Linked DNA regions of Homo sapiens: regions 1 and 3 are each linked to region 2. Evidence: promoter capture Hi-C in human tissues and cell types (Jung and others, 2019). All regions are on one chromosome and are shown on one strand. Each heading gives the region's core, a stretch centred on a gene start or on the middle of the fragment in contact. The rest is flanking DNA. Distances are from core to core; before and after follow the strand shown.

What was found. The method cuts DNA at HindIII sites, captures the fragments that hold promoters and counts their contacts. A contact is called where the count stands out against the background at its distance.
Region 1: a contact is called between a fragment that was not itself captured here and the fragment with the promoter of AQP8 in region 2, in 1 of the 25 tissues and cell types used here (lymphoblastoid cells).
Region 3: a fragment that was not itself captured here is called in contact with the fragment with the promoter of AQP8 in region 2 in 1 of the 25 tissues and cell types used here (dorsolateral prefrontal cortex).

What each region holds. Positions count from the first base shown.
Region 1 is chr16:24,580,509-24,584,902 of GRCh38, reverse strand. No RefSeq gene overlaps it. Among named protein-coding and RNA genes, the nearest start is that of RBBP6, 43 kb to the right of the region's middle. The HindIII fragment of the contact is 5,451 bases long and covers 1-4,394 here.
Region 2 is chr16:25,214,737-25,218,727 of GRCh38, reverse strand. AQP8 (aquaporin 8) reads right to left here and starts at 1,781. Exons shown (of 6, transcript NM_001169.3): 1 at 1,671-1,781; 2 at 1,283-1,530. The coding sequence starts at 1,682. The HindIII fragment of the contact is 27,087 bases long and covers 1-3,991 here.
Region 3 is chr16:25,770,374-25,774,465 of GRCh38, reverse strand. The region is part of intron 1 of HS3ST4 (heparan sulfate-glucosamine 3-sulfotransferase 4); the gene reads right to left. Among named protein-coding and RNA genes, the nearest start is that of HS3ST4, 80 kb to the right of the region's middle. The HindIII fragment of the contact is 6,913 bases long and covers 1-4,092 here.

The DNA.
Region 1 (4,394 bases), core at 852-3,351, 630 kb after region 2:
GCACATTGGAGTCACCTGGAGAGATTTTAAAAGACTGATGTTCAGACCACCCCACCAGATGTATTAAAGTAAAAACTCTGGGTAAGGTATACAGCCTTCAGTATGTCTTAAAGCTCTCTAAGTAGTCCAAAATATGCAGCCCTTTTGGGTACCAAAGAATAGAAGGACTCTGGACTTGAGGACATCAAGTGGATAGGGGTGCTGTACTGGAAAGAGCAGGATGGAGTCTGTCTATATATACTGAATGGAAGCTTACTTGGCTCCAAAAAATTCCTGGTAGCTGGATTTGTAATTATACTATAGTTTTTCATCCCCATTCTAAAGAGTGGAGGATTCCCCTCTGGAAGAAACTAACCACAAGAAAAAATGCCGGGAAGATCCTCAGTGAAGTGGTACACTCAGATCACTCTATAATAGAACTCTCTTGTCATATCTCACAAATTTCTAACTTGAAGAGCAGAAGAAAACCTCAACAAAATGAATATCTTTACAAGTCCTATTATAGCCATGAAAAAGAATAGAATGTTATGAAAAGGGGAACAATCAGGAAATAAAAAAATAGAACCCTGAGAAATTGTAAATATGGGCCAGACGTGGTGGCTTACACCTGTAATCCCAGCATTTTGGGAGGCTGAGGCGAGTGGATCACCTGAGGTCAGGAGCTCGAGACCAGCCTGGCCAACATGGTGAAACCCTGCCTTTACTAAAAAATACAAAAATTAGCTTGGTGCAGTGGCAGGCGCCTGTAATCCCAGCTACTCGGGAGTCTGAGGCAGGAGAATCGCTTGAACCCAGGAGGCAGAGGTTGCAGTGAACCAAGATTGTACCATTGCACTCCAGCCTTGGAGACAGAGTAAAATTCCATCTCAAAAAAAAAAAAAAAAGAAAGAAAGAAAAGAAAGAAAGAAAAGAAAAAGAAAAAAAGAAATTGTAAATATGCCAGCAGAAGTAAAGAACTGAAGTGTTGAGGAAACGTCACAACAAAAAATATGAGTGGAGGGTGGGCGCACTGGTTCACGCCTGTAATCCCAGCACTTTGGAAGGCTGAAGCAGGTGGATCACTTGAGCCCACGAGTTTGAGACCAGCCTGGGCAACATGGAGAGACCCTACTTCTACAAAAAATAAAAAATTAGCCAGGTGTGGTGCGTGTGCCTGTGGTCCCAGTTATTCAGGAGGCTGAGGCGGGAAGGTCGCTTGAGCCCAGGAGGTCAAGGCTGCAGTGAGCTATGACTGCACTCCAACCTGGTCAAACAAAACAAAACAAAACACAAGAATGGAAAATAGTAGAGGATCAGTCCAGAAAATCTAATATCAAAATAATGAGTCCCAAAAAAAGAAAGCAGAAAAAAATGGAATGGAGAGTATTATCCCACAAGTAATAAAATAATGTTTCCAAGAAAATCATAAAAGACATAATTTCATGAAAGACATGAAAGAAAGGGCTCATAGAGCACTTGGCAAAGTATATTTTAAAAGGGTCGCAACGTCATCATCACAACATTGGATTTTCTAAATGTACCTAGGTTAAAAGGAAGTTACCAAAGAATCCTGGGAGGGGAAAATATTGCAAAAATTGCATATAAATGGATTAGGAGTCAGAATGGCTTGAACGCCTGGTTAGCAATGCCAGAAGCAGGATTATGATAGAGAAATGCCTCCAGGTATGAATGCAAATGATTTCCAGTGCAGAATTCTATGCCCAACCAAACCATAAATCAAGTGTCGGGGTAGAGTAAGAACATTTGTGACATTTTAGGCTCTGAAAAATTTTACCTCCCAGGTACCCTTCCGCAGTAACTTACTAGAGCACATGTCCTCCACCTCAAATGAGGAAGCAAACCTAGGAAGAGAAAGACACAGGATGGAAGGCAAAGATCTAATGCAGAAGAGAGGGCGAGGGGAAGACCCAGGAGCAGGCAGTTTTGGGGTACGTCTAGAGGGCAACCAATCTTTGTTGTTGTTGCCGAGACAAAGTCTCACTCTGTTGCCAGGCTGGAGTGCAGTGGCACGATCTCGGCTCACCGCAACACCTGCCTCCCGGGTTCAAGCGATTCTCCTGCCTCAGCCTCCCAAGTAGCTGGGACTACAGGCGTGCGCCACCACCCCCAGCGAATTTTTGTATTTTTAGTAAAGACAGGCTTTTACCATGTTGGCCAGGATAGTCTCAATCTGACCTCAACTGATCGGCCCATGTTGGCCTCTCAAAGTGCTGGGGTTATAGGCATGAGCCACTGTGCCCAGCCATTTTTTTTTTTTTCGAGATGGATTCTCTCATTCTTGTCACCCAGGCTGGAGTGCAGTGGTGTGATCTCTGCTCACTGCAACCTCCACCTCGCAGGTTCAAGCAATTCTCCAGCCTCAGCCTCCTGAGTAGCTGGGATTACAAGGTGCGTGCCACCACGTCTGGCTAATTTTTGTATTATTGGTAGAGACAGGGTTCCACCATGCTGGCCAGGCTGGTCTCAAACTCCTGACCTCAATTGATCCTCCCACCTCGGCCTCCCAAAGTGCTGGGATTATAGGCATGAGCCACTGGGCCTGGCCCCAATTTTTATTAGATAGGTAGAAAGAAGGTTCTGGAGGGGAATATCCCAAGAAAAAGGGTAAAACTGATGAACACTTATTTGAATATCCTGGGAGGAGGTTTGTTTCCAGTGAGCCATAGAAAATCAAACTTTTGAAACGGGAGTTGATATTAATTCCAGGAAAAACAACATTTTACATGAAAGCAATCCTACTATACCAAGTGACTCAATGTGGAACTGTTTATATAGATATATAATAATGTATACCACCATTTTTATTTAATCCAAATGGTAAAACTTTTATTGAGAGGGTGGGAGAGGGTAGAGGTGTATGTGTGTGGGTGTTGCTAAAGTCAATTGTGGCTCATACTTGAGACTGAAAAATCAAGTAATAGGAGGAGTGTGTTATTTACATATAACATTCTTCTTTTCTTTTTTAAAGAAAGAACTAGCAGAGTTGAAATGGCCTGTAAAGAATTAGTCAGCATATAATTAATTAGAGTAGGAGAATGAAGTTTTTGTTGTAAGTCTTTTTTTTTTTTTTTTTTTTTGAGATGGAGTTTCGCTCTTGTTGCTCAGGCTGGAGTGCAATGGTGTGATCTTGGCTCACTGCAACCTCCGCCTCCCGGGTTCAAGTGATTCTCCTGCCTCAGCCTCCTGAGTAGCTGGGATTACAGGCGTGCACCACCATGCTCGGCTAATTTTTTGTATTTTTAGTAGAGACGGGGTTTCACCATGGCCAGGCTGGTCTTGAACTTCTGACCTCAGATGATCTGCCCACCGCGACTTCCAGAGTGCTGGGATTACAGGCGTGAGCCATCACACCCGGCCTGTTGTAAGTCCTGAAGAACTTTATGACTTTTTAAACAATGTACAACTTTGTGAGAAAAATTAAATTCTTAAAGCCTGCAAAATTGAGAATGTATTATGATCTGGGCAAATTTAATGAAAATGCTAACTACCACAGACATATCCTGGTAGAAAAGTCAATATCGGTGGGGGGAGGGGGAAGATGGAGAATCACACTGGTTTTGGACTTAAAGGTAACTCTAAATGCCTGAAGGCACCAGAATTTTGTTTTGTTGGCATTTCTGTTTTATTGTTAGTGGCTTTTTTTTTTTTTTTGACAGGGTCGCACTATGTCACCCAAGCTGGAGTGCAGTGGCTCACCGCAATCTCCAGCTCCGGGGTTGGAGTGATTCTCAGCCTCCCTAGTAGCTGAGATTACAGGTGTGCACCACCATGCCCATCTAATTTTTTTTTTTTTTTTTTTTTTGTATTTTTAGTAGAGATGGGGTTTCACCATGTTGGCCAGGCTCGTCTTGAACTCCTGGCCTCAAGTGATCCACCCGCCTCAGCCTCTCAAAGTGCTAGGATTACAGGCATGAGCCACCGCACCCGGCTGCTAGTGGCATTTAAAATTTTCAGATGTTTATTTGTGTAATAATTGAGATTGTAATTTTAAAAAATTGCAGAGGGGGAAACAGTTGCTAGTTTAAAGAACAAGCAGCTTCTTCTGCCCTCTAATGGCATAATTCATCCTTGGTTCAGAAAAATAATGGCTAATTTCAGTTTCAGAGATGAAGAAACTATGAAGTAGAACAGAAAAGAAGGGACGATGGTGTGCACAGGAAGATGAGAGGATGTGATGTGTTCTCAGAAAATAGGCAGAAATGTCACAAAATGTATAAAGATTGAGACTGTACCATAATGAGAAGCTCTGAAGAGAAAAATCAGCACAAGAGACATCAGAAAATTAAAAAGGAGCAAATCAGGATAAACCAGATCTCATATAACCATTATCAAAAATATCGGGGAAGCTCCTGGGCTTCCAGTTGACTGGCCAGTTGAAATAATAAACTCTTAAC
Region 2 (3,991 bases), core at 532-3,031:
TTGTATCTTTAGTAGAGACAGGGTTTCACCCTGTTGGCCAGGCTGCTCTCCAACTCCTGACCTCAGGTGATCCACCCGCCTCAGCCTCCCAAAGTGCTGGGATTACAGGCGTGAGCCACTGCACCCGGCCTAAAGAGATGTTAAAGCTCTTTTCCATTCTGGTTTTCTCAGAAATAGTATTTCTGTTTCCTCATTCAGATCTATTTTTTGAGTGAGATTTAATACAGACCAACCATGTCCCAGATCACCCTGCCAGGCACCCCACTCAAGATCTTCGTCGTGATGGCTGGCTCTCCTGGGAACCAGCAGCCATGTCCACAGACCTCCCCATTGAGCCTCTACCCAGACGAGAGCTAAGCCAGAGAAGCCTGTCCCTTTCCCTGCCCCTCCTTCTTGATCACCTCTTGACAAGCCAGGACCACTGCAGATCTCTGCATACCCAGGTGGGAAAACCTGGCTCAGGTCTTCTATGCATTTCTGCTTTCCCTAAAACCCCCTTCTAGTGGTAACAATAACACAGCAACCAATGCCTGTTGTATGTTTGGTGTGTGCCAGGCGCTCTACTTCATTTAATTCTCATGACTTCCGCATGAGGCACTTGGATTTGAGCGCTGGAGCCAGACAGCTTGTTCTTGACTCCCGCCTCTGCCACTTTCTGGCCCTCTAAGCTTGGACAGATTACATGGCCTTTCACTTTTGCAGCTGTACAATGGGGCTAATAACAGGACCTACCCCACAAGGCTTTTGTGAGGATTAAATAACTAATATCTATAAAGTAATTAGACTAGTGCCTGGTACATGGTTAGCAATATAGATATGTTGGCTTGAAAAAAAAAACATTTAAAAGCTACTATTCCCATTTTATAGGCGGGGAACTTTGGGTTTAGAGAGTAACTTGCCAGCCAGGCATGGTGTCTCATGCCTGTAATCCCAAAACTTTGGGAAGCCAAGGCAGGAGGATCGCTTGAGACCAGGAGTTCAAGACTAGCCTGGGCAACATAGTGAGACCCCATCTCTACAACAAAATTTAAAAATTAGTTGGGTGCTGCGGCGCATGCCTGTGATCCAGCTACTCAAAAAGAGAATGACTTGCTCAAAGTCACAAGCTCACAGGCTGCGGGGTCTGGAGTTGACCCCAGTCTGACTCCCAACCCCATAGTTATCCAGAGCGCTCCTTGAAATCCCGAATACGTATGCGCCCAGGGGTCCTTGACAACGCCTTTGCTTTCCACACCCAGTGCCCCAAGTCAGCATCAGGCTGAATCCTCAGAGCTGGTCTCACCTGATATTCCCCAGCGTGGCAATCACGAGCCCCAAAGCCAGCCCGTGGGCCAGGGCCGGCTGCAGCAGCCCAGTGTCCGTCCCATTCTCAATGACCGACAGGCACCCGATGAAGATGAAGAGAGCAGAGCCCAGCAGTTCGACCAGACATGGCTGCACAAACCGTTCGTACCAGGACACTCGCCACCTGCCACCCACGCTCGGCTCCCTGGCCTTGTCATTGCCAAATTCAGGCTCACACATGGCTATCTGCCGTAGGGAAAAAGGGACAGAGGACACGGGTGGGAGGCAAGTCCAGATATAGAAGGCCCCGACCCCCAACCTTGAATTAATTCACAGCCCCCCTTGCTCTGCCAGCCTGGAGAGGAAGATGCCGACAGAGGGCTCACCTCTCCAGACATCAGGATCAGATGGCACAAACATCGGACTCTTGCCTGAGCTGCTGGGAAACCTGCACCTGCTGTGCAAGATACTCTTATCTCCTAGGGACAGGACCTGCTGATCACACTATGGGCTCTGCCCCTTTTAAAGGGCTGCAGAGGCTCAATGCTGGTGCAGAGAAAGCAATAAACCTCAGGTAGGAGGCGGCTCTGAGGCCCAGAAGAGGAAATTTTTTTAAATCTCAACAGGGCAGGGTGAGGGAGTCAGGGATTGCTGAACTTTCCGCCAGTGAGGGAAAAACACGCCAGCTTGGCTGTGTCATCTGGGAGCACACTCCAGGCTGTAGAAGGTGGGAGATGGGTCCAGCACCCCAGCTCCCCACGGTCCAAAGCAGAACAGCACATGTTAGTGGGCCCCACTGGGTTGGAACCTCACATGTTAAGAAACAGCAAACAGCCAGGTGCAGTGGCTCACGCCTGTAATCCCAGCACTTTGGGAGGCCGAGGCAGGTGGATCACGAGGTCAGGAGATTGAGACCATCCTGGCTAACACGGTGAAACCCCGTCTCTACTAAAAATACAAAACTCAGCCGGGCGTGGTGGTGCACGCCTGTAATCCCAGCTACTTGGGGGGCTAAGGCAGGAAAATCATTTGAACCTGGGAGACGAAGATTGCGCAGAGCCAAGATTGTGCAACTGCACTCCAGCCTGGGCAACAGAGCAAGGCTCTGAAAAAAAAAAAAAAGGAAAGAGAAAGAAGAAAGAAAGACAGAGAAAGAAAGAAAGGAAAGAAAAGAAAGAAAGAAAGAAAGAAAGAAAGAAAGAAAGAAAGAAAGAAAGAAAGAAAGAAAAAGAAAGAAAGAAAGAAAGAAAGAAAGAAAGAAAGAAAGAAAGAAAGAAAGAAAAAGAAAGAAAAAGAAAGAAAGAAAAGAAGGAAGGAAAGAAAGAAAGAAAGAAAGAAAGAAAGAAAGAAAGAAAGAAAGAAAGAAAAAAGAAAAAGAAAGAAAAGAAGGAAGGAAGGAGAAAGAAAGAGAGGGCGTGTTGGTGTTTGCCTGTAATCCCAGCTACTCAGGAGGATGAGGCATGAGAATCACTTGAACCCAGGACCCAGAGGTTGCAGTGAGCCAAGATCGCGCCACTGCACTTCAGCCTCAGAGTGAGACCCTGTCTAAAAAAAAAAAAAAAAAAAAGAAAGAAAGAAAGAAAAAAGAAAAGAAAGAAACAGCAATCCCATTTTCAATTATTTTTCCAATGAGTCCCACAGCTTCAAACACCTGCAGTCACCGTGACAGCCTGAGCCAGGACTGAGTGTATAGATGACGATCCTTCACAGACAGAGGCAGCAGAGACTGGCAAGAGGTAATGCAATGCAGCGGCAAGACCCATGAACTTTGGAAATAGGCTGCCTGGCGTTCAATCCCAGCTCTGCTGTAAACTAGCTATGTAACCCTTGGGCACATGACTTGGCCTCTCTGGGCCTTTGTTTTCTCATCTGTTAGGTGTGGATGTTAGTGGTTTCACCATGTCATAGGGTCGTTGGGAAGTTTAAATGAGATAATACGGGTAAAGTGCTCAGGACAGTGCTAGACACACAATACCAGTGTCCACTAATTTACAATACATGCTTAGCTGTAACTAATAGCTAATAGTGAGCACTTTCTATGTGCCAGGCACTGGGGCTAAGTGCCTTCTATTATCTCATTTAAACCTCACTGCCACCCTGTGAAGCAGGTACTATTATTACAACCATTTCACAGACGAGGAAGTGGAGTGTCAGGAAGATTGAGTTTCCCAAGATTACACAGCTTATATGATCACAGAACTTGTGGGCTGTCACAAAAGGATAAATACTGTATCTGATTCCACTTGTATGAAGTACCTAGACTAGTCAAATTCATAGAGACAGAAGTAGAATGGTGGTTTCCACGGCCCGAGGGGAAGGGAGAATGAAGAGTTTGTGTTTAGCGGGTACAGATTTCCTGTTTGGGAGGAAAGTTTTGGGATGGATGATACAGTGGCACAACAATGTGAAGTACTTAATGTCACTGAAATGTACACTTAAAAATGGTTCCAAATGCTGGGTGTGCTTGGCTCACACCTGTAATCTCAGCACTTTGGGAGACCAAGGCAGGAGGATCACTTGATTTTAGGAGTTTGACACCAGTCTGGCCACATGGTGAAACCCTGTCTCTACTAAAAATACAAAAATTGGCTGGGTGTGGTGGTGCACGCCTGTAATCCCAGCTACTTGGGAAGCTGAGGCAGGAGAATCGCTTGAACCTGGGGGGCAGAGGTTGTAGTGAGCTGAGATCACACCACTACACTCCAGC
Region 3 (4,092 bases), core at 370-2,869, 560 kb before region 2:
TCTTGAAGGCAGAAGACTTGAGTTTGAATTTTAGTTGCTCCAGCCCTTGAGCTGTAAGTCTTGGGATAGTTGCTTAATCTTCTGAACCTTGGTTTTACCAACTATAAAATGAAAAGAATAGTAATGTTTATCTCAGAAGGTCTTGAACCAACTAAGGAAGTGCCTGGCACATAGGCAGCTGGTCAATGTTTGCTAAATCCCAAACTGCGAAACCATCCAAAGCACTCTCACTGTGGCTGTTTACCCTGATTTAATAGCTCACGCTTACCAAATATTAAATACTTTCCACAAAGTACTTCATTTAGCTCATTCATCCTGTTCCCCAATCACACTATCTCTTACTTATTTACCTGCATGGGCAGGGACTAGTTCTTAGCAACAAAACTTTCAGAAACTGGGGTATTTCTGGAGGGACTGCTGTCTTCCTAGGAGCTCCCACAAGAAAGTGCCAGAAAACAGACATTTGGAATGACAATGATACAACCAATTGCAACAAGTCTCTAGTGATGTTGCTTTGGTCACCGAGATAGTCAGATTCATCAAGGGTTTAGGGGGGCTGGTTTAAAGGGACAGGTCACTCTATCTTGAAGTCAGCACAAAATCTGTTTTGCACAGGGGCATACAGAGTAGTATAATCGACACGGGAGACTCAGAAGAGAGGAGGATGGCAGGGGGTGAAGAATGAAAAATTACCTATTGGGTACAATGTACAATATTCTGTGACAAGTACATGGAAAGCCCAGAGTCCACCTCTATACAATTCATCCATGTCACCAAAAACCACTTTTATCCCTAAAGCTACTGAATTTTTTTAACCTGTTTTCCTGCATCGCCAGCATTTCAAGATGTTTTCAGTTTGTCTACTTGAAAGTGTCTCCAAATTGATAAATAACTTCCTATTTTCAAATTCAGCAACACTCATCAAACATTTATTAAGTGCCACACACCATGCTAGGGATGAGAGTTAAAGGGGTTTATGAGGTACAACCCCTGTCTTCAAGGAGCTTTTCATCTATTAGGGAGACAAATTCACAACCAAGGCAAATTCAAGTTTTAAGTGTTCTGTAGTATTAGGAGCCAAAACCAATGGGACTGGACAGGAAGGAGCATCTCAGTCTTCCAAGCCACGGTAGACCCCACTCCCAGGACATAAAATATCGAAGGCCACCAAAGTTCAGCAGTAAAAATATGGAGGTGCTGGAGCTGAGGAACACAGAAGTCAGCCTGAACTGAACGGAGACATTTGAGAATGCTGTGCAGAGATCCTGTCTGGGAACAAAACTGGGGAAGTGTGGGTAGATAAGGAACCAGACAGCAGCAGTTTTGTGTGACATTTAGTTGCTGTAAGCCACACACAAGTCCTTGAGGAATGTATATAAGTACGGTATGTGGCATGTATCGCTATGTATGGTTGTCTGATCCAATTTCTTCTTTTTCCTAATAGAGAATCTGAATACTTACTCCTTCCCATCCCAGAATTTTCTTAAGAATCCCTTCGATACCTTGTAGTTTCAAAGGTACCTACCTAGCAGAGCTGAACGTGGCATCTTCAACCTTGGTCTGTCCAGCACCTACCCTGCCATGGCCGTTTCTCCATCTCTCGACGTCATAGCCACCTTTGATTCCCAGGCTTGCATTAGACTTGTAACATTACAGGTGTGAAAATGAAATGTCAAACGTTTCTCACCCTCTCTCTCTAAGAGAATGGTGAGACAGTTAGAAGCGCTGAATTCCTCAGACTTAAATGTCTCTCACTTTTCAAAGACTCTTTCTAGAATCCTATAGACATGGGGGCCTTTCTGAGCTCCACTGACTTTTACAGTGTGTATTTCCATGTTTCAGTTGAAAGGCTGAGGTTCTGAATAAAAGCCCATAAGAAGATAAAGTAACTAATATTTGTTCAATCCCTAAACACACTGAAACACACTGAACATTTTCACTTGGATCAACCCATTAAAACTCTTGGAGATAAGTATGCTGACCTAAGGCCAGTATCACGGATGACAAAAGAGAGGATCAGAGAGGCTCTGTAACTTACCCGGGATCACACAGCATAAACACAGAATCCTAACCAAATATAGTTGACTCCAAAACATAACCATAGCTCTACTGTAATTCTCTAGTAAGATGTCAGCTAAATGGGCTATCAATGATGCATTCAGAGAAACACTATGCATGACAACAAACAGAGAAGACTTTCTTCAAGGCTCAGTTTAAGACTGTGGTTTAGGCAACTAAGATAATGTTGATTGTGATAAGAGAAGCCCAAATACCATCTTTCAGTACTTGTCATGACAAGAATACTCTACAATAAGGGTCCACGGGCTACAGCTTGTGTTCCAAATCTAGCCTGCTGCCTTGTTTTGTACATAAAGTTTTATTTCATGCTACAAGGGCAGAGTTGAGTAGGTGTGACAGAGACCATATGGCTCATGAAGCCTAAAATTCTTATCTGTCCCTTTACAGAAAAAGTTTGCCAACGCCAGACTAGAAACGTTATCCTATCTTCCACTAAATGCTGTTTGGAACCAGAAGATAAAAAGAGGTAAAAGAGAGGGAACAGAAAGATAAGAAGCCATCCATAAAAATGCATTGAGCTCCTACAGTATGTACTCAATGTTCTATTCTCCTCCAGCCAAGGCACTAGGAACACAGACTCATTCACTCAACAAATATTTATTAAGCCCTTGAGCACCTACTCTGTTCCAGTCATTGGACTAGGTATTGAGGAGACTGCAATAAACATAAACTGCAAGTGCTAGTGAGATAGTTCCCTTATATTCTCTGCTTCAAAGAATTGACAACTACATGGGGCACACAAGTTATGACACCAAAGTCTAAGGAGAGCAATGAGAAGTCTTCAGAGAAAAAAGCAACCCGTTCTTTCCACAGAAGATAAGGAAGGCTTCCCATAGTAACATCTGAACTAGGTCTTGAAGTGTGGTTTGCCAAGGGGAAAGGAGGAGGAAAGGTACACCAAGCAGAGAGGAGAGTCTGTGCAAAGGCCCTGGGGTAGGAAATCACTTAGCATGTGAAACCCACAACAGGGAGCTGTCCTGTGGCTGGGGCAGACAGAGCACTGGATGGGGAACAGCAGAAAATGAACTTGCAACATGGTGGCCAGATGGTAGTTTCTAAGAACAGGCTCCAGAGGTTTGGCCCTACTCTACCAAGTCCTGGTTCAAATCCTGGCTGTTGAAACTCACACAGGAACAGAAAAACTGAACACCACATGTTCTCACTCATAAGTAGGAGTTGAACAATGAGAACACATGGACACAGGGAGGGGAACATCACATACTGGAGCCTGTTGGGGTGTGGGGGGCAAGGGAAGGGAGAGCATTAGGACAAATAGCTAATGCATGTGGGCTTAAAACCTGGATGACAGGTTGATAGGTGCAGCAAACCACCATGGCACGTGTATACCTACGTAACAAACCTGCATGTTCTGCACATGTATCTCAGAACTTAAAAAAAAAAATCCTGGCTGTTGGACCATAATAAGTGACTTCTGTAGCCACGTCCCAGGATCATCCTGAGGACCCAAAGTGACAATGTGTATAAAACACTTAGCGCAGTTCCCAACACGTCATAAGCACTGAATAGACATTCACCGTTATGATTAATAGTATGATATGGAAGCCAATCAGAAATGTCATCCAAACTAATTGCTTTTCATCAGTTGCAACATTCAGCTTCCATCGAAGCTTTAACTGGTTGAGAGAAATGTATCAGGAAGCAAGCAGCCCAAACGAAATGCATCAATATATGTACAAAAAGCAGGGCAGCCATTCAGGCCGTACAGCTCCAGATGCAAAGTTACCCCAGGTAGCTCACTCACAGGACTGGCAGGCCCTGTTCCACTCCACACACCTGGTCTGCAAAATGTCCCAACTGCACCCCTCAGCCATTGTAGAGCGTGTTAGGCTTAAAAGAGTGAGCTGAGCTCAAGTTCAGGCACCATCCCTTCCTCAATGTGTGGCCTGAGAGAGGTTGCCTGCCCTCTTGTGTGTTAGTCTTTCGATCTATAAGCTAGAGGTGATAATAGAACCAAATTCCTAAGGTGGTTGTGAAAATGAAATGAGATGATCA